Regions from separate parts of the Homo sapiens genome. Here region 2 is linked to region 1. Evidence: promoter capture Hi-C in human tissues and cell types (Jung and others, 2019). All regions are on one chromosome and are shown on one strand. The core of a region is centred on a gene start or on the middle of the fragment in contact, and the rest is flanking DNA. Distances in the headings are between cores, read along the strand shown. Region 1 holds the start of GPC1 (glypican 1). Region 2 has its middle 130 kb from the start of OTOS.

The links. The method cuts DNA at HindIII sites, captures the fragments that hold promoters and counts their contacts. A contact is called where the count stands out against the background at its distance.
Region 2: a contact is called between a fragment that was not itself captured here and the fragment with the promoter of GPC1 in region 1, in 1 of the 25 tissues and cell types used here (dorsolateral prefrontal cortex).

The regions. Positions count from the first base shown.
Region 1 is chr2:240,433,956-240,438,917 of GRCh38, reverse strand. It overlaps GPC1 (glypican 1), which reads right to left and starts at 3,255. Exons shown (of 9, transcript NM_002081.3): 1 at 2,834-3,255. The coding sequence starts at 2,999. RefSeq lists enhancers at 753-1,254, 1,306-1,882, 3,616-4,192, 4,592-4,886 and silencers at 3,007-3,066, 3,127-3,786. The HindIII fragment of the contact is 16,928 bases long and covers 1-4,962 here.
Region 2 is chr2:240,271,377-240,276,155 of GRCh38, reverse strand. No RefSeq gene overlaps it. Among named protein-coding and RNA genes, the nearest start is that of OTOS, 130 kb to the right of the region's middle. The HindIII fragment of the contact is 5,374 bases long and covers 1-4,039 here.

The DNA.
Region 1 (4,962 bases), core at 2,006-4,505:
CTGGCATAAAGGGAGGGTGGCCGGGTGCCCTGCTGCAGTGCCACCGTCCAGCTGGTGGCACCCAGGCCTGCTTCCTTGCCCATAAAATGGGATGACCACTGCTGTCACTGCAGCCTGGCCTGGCTGTCCAGAGGACAAAGGAAGTCTCAAAAGGGAGCCCAATATGTCCCGACACTGCCCTCTTTCATGAGCTAAGTCTCCTGTCACCCACTGCCTTTTCTGGTCCCTGGGGCAGAGGCTGGGAAGGCCCGCCACACACCCAGGGCCAACTGCTCTCCTTCCCACGAGGAAGTATCAGATCTCTACCCCACCTGCTCCGGGCCAGCGAGGTGCCCAACCCCAGGGGGTTCGCATTCCCTCTGAGGAGGTCCCCCTGGAGAAGTCTGGATGCAGGAGAGAGGGGACTGAGAATGGTGCCTACTAGGCCACAGAGGGTCCAGGGCTCCTGGGAGGATCTGCCGCCCAGGGGCCACCAGAGGGCGCCCGTTCCACGGAGCCCAGGCCCAGCCGACAAAGCAGGAGGGGACACTGGGCTTGGCTGCCCCAGGACTGCTGCGACCCGAGGGAGTCACCCTGTTTCCCTCAGCCCACGTGGCTCCCACACTGTCTTCTGTACCCTGGGTCCCGAAGGTTACTCCCCACTTCTGCAGCCATAGGGGGTGCAGGGAGAGAGGTTCCTGTCGGAGGGGCACCGACTGGAGAGGCAGTAATCCTGCCCAGTGCAGTCCTGGCCTTGCAAGTCTGGAGGAGGGTGGCACCCCGAGCCCTGGCAGCAGGCACTGGCCCATGGCTGGCACCGTGGTTAGACAGCTGCAGGGCGTTCGTACTCCCCACGCGGGGTGGACAGCATCCCCTGCCCCATCAGACACAGAGAAATCAACACAATCTGCCTGTCCTGGGTCCCTAACCCACTGCATTCCCCAACCCAAGAGCAGCACGACCCACACTCTCTGGCCCAGCCCCACATCAACTTCTCCATCTTGTCCTGCCCTCTCTTCTCACCCTTGGGAGATGGCCAAACTCTGCCACTCTGTCTCTCTAACTGGCAACAGTGGCCTGTGGATGCAAGGAAGGTTAGGTTGGCTCCTAAGGATGCAACTGCCCAGAGGACATGGAGGTGCTAAGAAGGGCTGGGGGCTAATGGTTTCCAAAGGAGCAGGGTTCAAGACTCTGGGCTGGGAGGGGCAGCCACTCAGCCACTCTGCTACCCTGGTGCCTGGGGAGGGATTCACCAGGAAGGCCAGGGATGCCTCTTTATGTGTGAGTAGAGGGGCAGAGAACGAACCCAACTGTGCCGAGGGCCTTGTGCTGCCTGGCATCCAGGTGTGCCCCCTACCTGGGACAGACAGAGCCCAGTGGGGTGAGGGGGGCAGCCTGGAAATGACAGGGTTGCCTCTGCAGAGGCACAGGAAGGCCTGTCCTGGGGACTTTGGAGGGGTCCTTGCAAGAACCTCAGGCTGGTGGGGAGGGCATCGGGAGATCCGCCAAGGGACTGTCTGCGGGTTCTGTTCCTTCTGTGGGGGGCGGTCAGGGGGCCCTTACAAGAACCTCAGGCTGGGGGCATCGGGAGATCCACCAAGGGCAAGGGGCTGTCTGTGGGTTCTGTTCCTCCTGGAGGGGCAGGGGTCCAGAGCCCGACTGCCTCCTCCCACCACTCCGCCCCCCGCGGCAAGGCATGGCCACAGACCCCCCTCACCCAGATGCACGGATCCTTCTTGCTCAGAATCCCCAGGACCATGGGCATTTCTGCGCTGAGTCCCCATCTGAGTAGCCCTCCACCCGCACTCCCACTCCCCTGGTTTCAGAGGAGCCCCCCAGAGCAGGAACCTAGTCTGTTTTGTTCTTGCCCACTGGGTCCCTGGCACGCGGTACAGACCGAGGTTGGTTCCCACACGTGGAAAGGTGAAGCTTGGGTTCCAAGAGTTCCTTAGCACACGGAGCCCACCGTTCCACCCACCCGTACACTTCTGTCCCCAAAGCTCCTCCGGGACCACAGGGAGGGAAGAGGCAGAGCCGCAGGCGGCTGCAGGGCTTAGGGGGCGCCAAGAGGGCCGCTGTTCTTACAAAGAAATGACACGGCCCCTGGGCGGGATCCAACGCGCCGACCACCTGCAGCTGGACTCGCGGCACGAGGCTGCCCAAGCGCCAGGCGGGGGCCGGCGCGTACAAGTTCTTCGACAGGAATCTCTACGAGGCGGCGGCGTTCCGCCCGCGGATAAGTGCCCAGCTCCCTCCCCACCCCTCCGCACTACCCCCCGAGGGGGTCAGCTTATAAAACCCACCTAGGCTGCCTTTGCTGGAGACCCTACGAGAATCCCCGGGCAGGACCGGAGACGCCTCCCAGAGAGGTCTGTACAGAGCAGAAGGGGTCCGCGGCCACCGTCAGCGGCGCCCCGAAAGCCCGGCCACGCCGAGCCCCACAGCGCCCCGACAGCCGGCCCCGGGGCTGGGACTCCCGGCCTGCAGGCGCGCTGGGCCGAGCGGCGGGCAGAAGACGCCCAGCTCCAGCCGTGGCCCGGGAGGAGCGCCCCGAGCCCGCAGCCCGGCGAGATCAGCTCCGCAGGGAAGAAGCCGGCGTGCGGGGGGCGGGGAGGGGCGGAGGACGACCGAGCGGGGCGGAGGAGACCCTGGCGAGGGAGTGCGGCGCGGGGCTTGGAGGCGAGGGCCGTGGGGTTGCAGAGGAGCCGCAGCGCAGGGAGCCATTCGGGGCCCGGGCGGCGGGGCGCAGGCGGCAGGATCCCGCGCCGGGGGCGAGTAGCCGCGTCGGGAAGACCAGGGTCCGGAGCCCAAAGCCCGGCCAGGCCCGGGTTCCCGGCGCCGCGCCCTCACTCACCCGAGATCTCCGCCTGGGGCACGTCGCTCAGGCTGAAGCCCTTGGCTCCGTAGATCTGGCGGACCTCGCCGCAGCTCCGGCTCTTGCTGGCCGGGTCCCCGCGGGCGCAGGCGACCAGCGCTGCGGCCGCACATAGCAGCCACCAGCCTCGGGCCCGGAGCTCCATGGCGGGGCCGGCGGCGCCCCCGGCCACCCGCCCGCGCCTCTCTCGGATCCTGGCCGGGTCCTGCGCAGTTCCCGCCCGCGAAGGGCAGAGCCAAGGTCCCGGCGCGCGCGGCTCGCGGTCCAGAGGCGGCGGCGGCCGAGGAGGCGGAGACAACAAAAGCCGGCGGCGGCGGCGGCGCGGGGCGCGCGGGGTGCGAGGTCCGAACGCTCGCTCGGGCAGCCCAGAGCGCGGCGGGCTAGCGCAGTCCCGGCTCGGCGCCTCCCCCGCCGCCGGCCCGGCCCCTAGGCGGCCGCGGGAGAGGAGAGGGGCGGGGCAGGGTGGGAGCGCAGGGGTGGGGGAGGGACTGGGAGCACCGGGCGGGGCGGGGCGGGGCGCGGCGCGGGGGCGCGGGCCGGGGCGCACTGGGCGCTCCTCTGGCTCTTAGGGACCCAGAGGGCCCGCCTGGCCGCGCGACTCTATCGATCCCCGGCGGGAGGCGGCGGAGCCGGGCAGCGCGGGGCCGCGGCCGGGGTCCCCGAGGGCGGCCCCCCACGCCCAGCGCCCAGGGCGGTGGCACCACCTGTGGGGGCGGGGACGGGGGCGGAGGGTGCGCGAGGCAGGGCTTCCCCCGCCGGACGTGACATCACGCCTCCCGCGCCCCAATCAGGGGCCTCCCCGCCCCCAGCCGAAATCGGCATCCCGCTCCCCGCTCCCTCCCGCGCGCTCCGGCTTCCTGCACCCTGGCAGCGCGCCCCGAGAACGCTCTCCCGGCGCCTCCGTACCCTCCGCCCGCCGGCCGCGCCTCGAGCCGCCGCCCCTCTCCCCGCCTGCACCCCGCAGCGGCTCCCTCCCCGCGCCCTTCCAGCCGTCTCGCGCTGGGCTCCGGCTCGCACCGGGGGCTTTTGTGGTGTGGGGGCTGCACGCAGGAAACTCGCCAAGAAACTCGACCTCACCTCTCCCAGTCCCAGGGAGCGGCAACAGATGGCTTAATTGTTGGACCTTGACAGCTGTTTTGGGGGGGTGACCCTCCACGTTCTTTGGATGCTGGAGAAACCAAAGTGATGGGGCAGGGCCGGTCTACTGGTTTGGGCTGCTGGGTGGGGCCAGATGACCTCTGGAGAAGGGATAGGGTTGGAACCCGGCGACTAGTTAGGCCACTGGGGGAGGAGGGTGGAGTGAGCCGGAGCAGATGCCTCTTTGAAGAAGGCGGGAGGGCTGCCTGCACCTTGTATGGTAGGAGGGCGCGTGGCTTTAGCTGCACATGGGGAGTTGGGCTGGATGGGGTCTGTAGGGAGGGGGCGAGGACTGCGATGTTGGTGTCTGGAGGGCTTCACTCCTTCCTTGGCTCCCAGACCCCCCACCCCGGCCCCCTGTTCTCCACATGGTAAGGCCTGGCGGTGAAGCCAGGTGCCTGAGCTGCAGAATTGGGGGCAGGCATAGAGGTCAGTATCCTTGGCAGAGAACCTCAAGATGACCCCCATGTACAGCAAGGGTGTCCTGATTTCAGGGCCTGTGGCATCACCTGGAAGCTGCAGCGGGGTCCGTGGTGGGGGTGGTGGCAACATTCCCTACCCCTTCTGTGCCTGGGGCTCTCAGCCGCTGTGTGGGGCTGGAGCAGGAAGGTGGGGTGCCCTCCCCCTGGGCTCTTGGGGTTTCCTGCCCTGCCTCCCAGAGAAGGTTGCTCCTTCACCCAGAGACACTGAGTCATTGCTGGAGAGGGAGGCTTTGGGGACCCAATCCAAGTGTGCATTTCCCTGCCCTCCCCCACATACCCTCTGCTGCGTCACATTTTGTGACTCACAGACCCCTGTTCAGTACATGCTCCAGGCTTGCTCCTTCTTGCCTGGGCCTGGCGTGGCTGCCTGCACACCTTATCCAGCACGGTCAGGAGCCTGGGCCCACGATCCCGCTCTCTCTCTGTGTGGTCTCACGCACTGCGGGATCAGGCAGGGCTGCCTGGGCCTAGGAAGCTGGACTTGAGGTT
Region 2 (4,779 bases), core at 103-2,602, 160 kb after region 1:
ACAATCATGACAGAAGGCAAAGGGGAAGCAAACACCTTCTTCACAAGGCTGCAGGAGAGAGAAGAATGAAGGAGAAACTTCCAAACCCTTATAAAACCATCAGATTTTGTGAGAACTTACTCACTATTACCAGAACAGCATGGGGGAAACTGCCTCCGTGATCCAATCACTTCCCTCCCTTGGCACATGGGGATTACAGTTTCCTCCCTCAACACGTGGGGATTATAATTTGAGATGAGATTTGAGTGGGGACATACAGCCAAATCACATGAGTTACGATTTTTTATTTTTTCATTAAGCAAAGAGTTAAGAAAGATTTTGGAAAGCTTCCAAGTGGTTTGGTATTTTTCTGTTTTCCCTCTTTTGTGATAGATATCTAACTTATTGCAATGTGGTCAGAGAATGTGGCCTGTATGATTTCAACATTTAAAAAAAATAATTTTCCAAGATGTTCTTTTTGGTCCAGGATCTGGTTTGATGCCCCAAGCCATCTCTCTTAGGTAGATATTCTTAAATGACTCACGGGTGTTTGAAAAAATATCCACCTGATGTGTCTTTGGGGAACAAAGTCTGAGCCACAGAGCCAAGTGTATTAATCATATCATCGTGTTCAAACCTCTTCTGCTCTTCATCTCTCAAGGCTGGCTGGGTGTTCACAGTCCCCTGTGTGTTCATTGCTTCTGAGCTCTCAAAGTCTGTGATGTCTGACTTAAAGTGCTCCTGGGGATGCCCTGGTTGGAGACAGTGGAGAGGAGGAGGGATTCAGAGCTATTTTAAGCAGGAGATAGGGGCTCCAAAAACACAGCTTCCTCATCTCTGACACAGAAAGAGCAATTGTGAGAGTTGTCTGCAGGAGTGAATCACAAATCGATGATTGTAAATTGTATAGAACCATGCAAGGCACATAGCAAATGTTGGCTTTGTGTGGAATTGTAATTTTTAATACGCAGACAACCTTTTGACATCCTTCTACACGTTTCCAGTGGTATTGTACTTTTTTCTGATGTCCTCACTTGCATCTCTGTTCTTTCTTTACTGTGCATCTCCCTGGTTCTGGGCTTCACATGGTGCACAGCAGAACACTCCTTGGAACCCACGCGGGCTGCTCTGGGGGGCTGCCTGAGCTCCACAGTGCTGCTGTGTTTGATTTTCCACAGCTTGTGAATGAGAAAGAGAGTTAGATTTTATCTTCTGACTCATTTGATAGTTGGATGTTCTCTCTCTCGGTCTTACTGTAATCAGGTTTTATTTGGTCTTATTTTAAGTCGTCTGTTATGCTTCCTGTTGTTTCACGCTTCCATGCTTTGCTATTATTATTCATTATATTGCTAAGGTTATTTTCTTGCTGACTCTTTTTTTTTTGTAATTTAAAAGCAAAACGCTTTTATTCTACCAAGTCCACCTTACTTAATCCCCATATTTATACCTCTATTTCTCCACCAGCATTAATAATATACCAACAACTGTCTTTCACCCCATATAAAATGAGAAACTTTAGCATGCTCGATTTTCTCCTTTCCTTGCTTCCAACACTCAGGTTTTGTTTGACTAACACGGGCATCTTGTGCTTGATTTATGACACATTTTATTTGTTATGTATTCTTGCAATAACTATTTTTGCCTTTACACTCTATAAGCATATTAATCATCTGGACATTAATATATGCCCTGCTGGGTTGGATTCCTACTGTCATGTCTTTGGACCATGCCTTCCTTGTAATCTTTATTTTCATCCAGTTCTTGCTCATCTAACCTTTTGAGTCCTATATCTATGAACGTATCTCTCTATCATCCTCACAATGTAAACACTGGCCTGAGAGAATACAGAAATCTTGGGTGATGAATTTTGGCTCCTCGAAAGTCTGAGTTGCTGTCCTGTTGTCCAGTTGCATTTGGTGCCCTGAATGAGGACTATGATAGTGACATTCCCTCCCTCTGCTCTTAACCATTGAGGTTTCTCCCCCAACCTGAATGCCTGTAGGACTTCTTCTTGATCTTTGAAATGTGAAGAATACCTCAAGGTTATCCCTCCTGTACCTTGGCCGGCCCTAATCTCAGGGACCTGTGGTTGGTGGCTCACTTTGCTGTGCCACTGATGTCTTGTCTCATGGAACACTGGGCCCCAGTGTGAGGGGCTCTCTCATACCCAGGACACCTTTCCCTCTTCCTGCCTGTGACCCTTGGTGGGGATCTTTGCCCCCATGAGACTAGTTTTTCTATTCTCCTCCCCAGTTCTCTGGGAAGTAGAGGAAGAAGCAGTGTTGCAACTTGAGCTCCTCCCTCTCATGATATGTTCTCTATCCATTTTCCCAAATGACCCTCTTCTGCTCAGAGACTATGGGCACAAGCTGAGACATGGATTGGAGGTGGGGGTGGTTCATTAGTCAAGCCCAGCTTCTTTATATGGCCAGAATTGTGGCTCTTTTGCATTAATCCCACTACCTCCCCTTATGGCTGTCAAAAACTTCCTTATCCATTGCTGTGATCTGGCTCCTATGTAGCCCTTGAGCCCTTTGAAACATCTGCATGGCTCAGAATCCAATTGTAGACAAGGTTAACATTATTTCTCATCGTGGTTCCAAGCCCCATAAATTAGAGGTTGTGGTAAGATTCTTGTACAGTGCCCTTTGAATGTCCAATGAAGCTGTACACAAAATGCCAGGCTCATAGATGACCTCTGATTAATGAGAGTTGGAATGGGAAGTAGGAAAAGACAAAGGGGTAGAAGACCAGGGACTTCAACAATAAATGGCTCTCTTAAAATGACTCTTGCCTGATAAGTCCATACATTGTCTGGTCCAGTCAGAACATACCATTCAACAAACTTAAGAAAGAAGTTATGAAGGCTGATAATGGCTAAAATAGCTTTACCGGACTAGTTTTACTTAAGAAAGCAATTAAAAACTTTGAACAAACAAAAAGACAGACACTGTAATATATTTTAAAGCATTGAAGTACAACCTATAATAGAAGCTGAAGAAGACTCAATGTTTGAGGGCAGCCGACAGTCTCCATGATGTAGGGAAGACAGAACTCAAGCAAAAAGTGTAGTAAAGTTGTTTGGAAGTATCATAACATAGCATTTGGGTTCCCAAAGTAGTTGGAAATTGAGGAAGGAAATCCAATAGGAGAGGGAGTCACAGAAGGGAGAGCCACAAATCTGTGAATAAACTCCCTTCAAATCCTTGGTGATGCATATAAGGGAGATCTTAAGGAGGTTGAAGGGAAATTGAAGCTGGAAAAGCTGAATTGATATTTCAGCTGCTGCTCACAACAGAAGAGCCAGATTTGCAATTTAAATCCTGCCAAGTTACAGGAGCTTGGTAAAAAACCTTAGGCTTCCATTGAAATCCCCAAAAGATTATAACTTAGGAGTAAAGCCTATGTTCCAGAATTAAGACTTTTTTTAGCTAAAGGAAAAGTCTAAATAGAGTTACCCCCCAAAAAAAGTTTAAATAAATCTCCACAAATACAAGATGATTATCTGATAAATTAATTGCTTATTAGAAAAAAATCAACAATTTTCACAGAAAGATAATAGAATCCAAAGTCTGAACAATAGCCAATAAACAATAAAAAATGAGTAGATATGTGAAGAAACTGAAAAATGTGAGCCATAGAAAAAAGAAAAGCAATCAATGTAAATATACTGTGATTTGACCTATATTTTGGAATTAGCAGACAAATAATTTAAAATATTGTTACAGAAATGTTCAAGGAATTATGAGAAAGGCAGACTGTAATGAGTGAATGGATGAAAGAATTCTCAACATAAAATGGGAAAATATGTAAGGAACCAAACAGATACTTTAACACTTAAGTGTAAGATAGCTAAAATGAAAAAGTCACTGGATAGGCTTAGCAAAAGATTGAAGCTGGCAGAAGAAAACATTAGTAAACTTGAAAACAGATTTTTTAAATGACCAAATTTGAAGAAAGAGAGAGGAAAAATGTACAAAGAACAGTTCCTCATGACCTATGAAACATTACCAAACAACCTAATACACTTGTAACTGGAGTCACAAAAGGAATGGAGACAGCAAGTAGAGTAGACAAAATATTAGAAAAAAGGTAGAAATTCTCCTAAATTTGGTGAAAGCACAAATGTACAGATTAAGGCCAATGAACCCTAAGTCGAATAAATTCAAAGCAAACCACTGCGAGGCACACCACAAACTGTTTAGAGCTAAAGAGAAAGAGAAAATCTCGTATACAGCCTGAGGAAAAGGGCTCATAATATCGCTGGGGAAAGTAACACAAATGATGGATGACTTTTCATCAGAAATAATGGAGGCCAGAAGGCAATGGAACTACATCTTTAAAGTATTAAAAGAAAAACTGTCAACCCCAAATTCTCTCTTCATCAAAGTAAGTGACATGGACAATTCCTTGGAAGACTCAAGTTACCAATGCTGACCCTAGAAGTCACAAAATATCTAAATAGCCCTATATATTAAAGAAATTAAATGTATCAAAAACCTTCCCACAAAGTAAACTTCAGGCCCAATTTCACTGTAAAATTTTCTCAAACATTAAAGAAAAAAAATACTAATCTTACAGAAACACTTTCAGAAAACAGAAGAGAAGAAGGAAAACATTTAAACTTATTTTATGAGGTCAGGATGACCCTAATATAAAACCAGACAAAGACATTACAAACCAATATCCTTCCTGATCACAGATGTAAAAATCCTTGAATAAATTTAGGAAATTGAATCCAGGAATATTTAATAATAATAACATATTAGGACCTGATGAGGTTTACCCCAGAAATGCAAG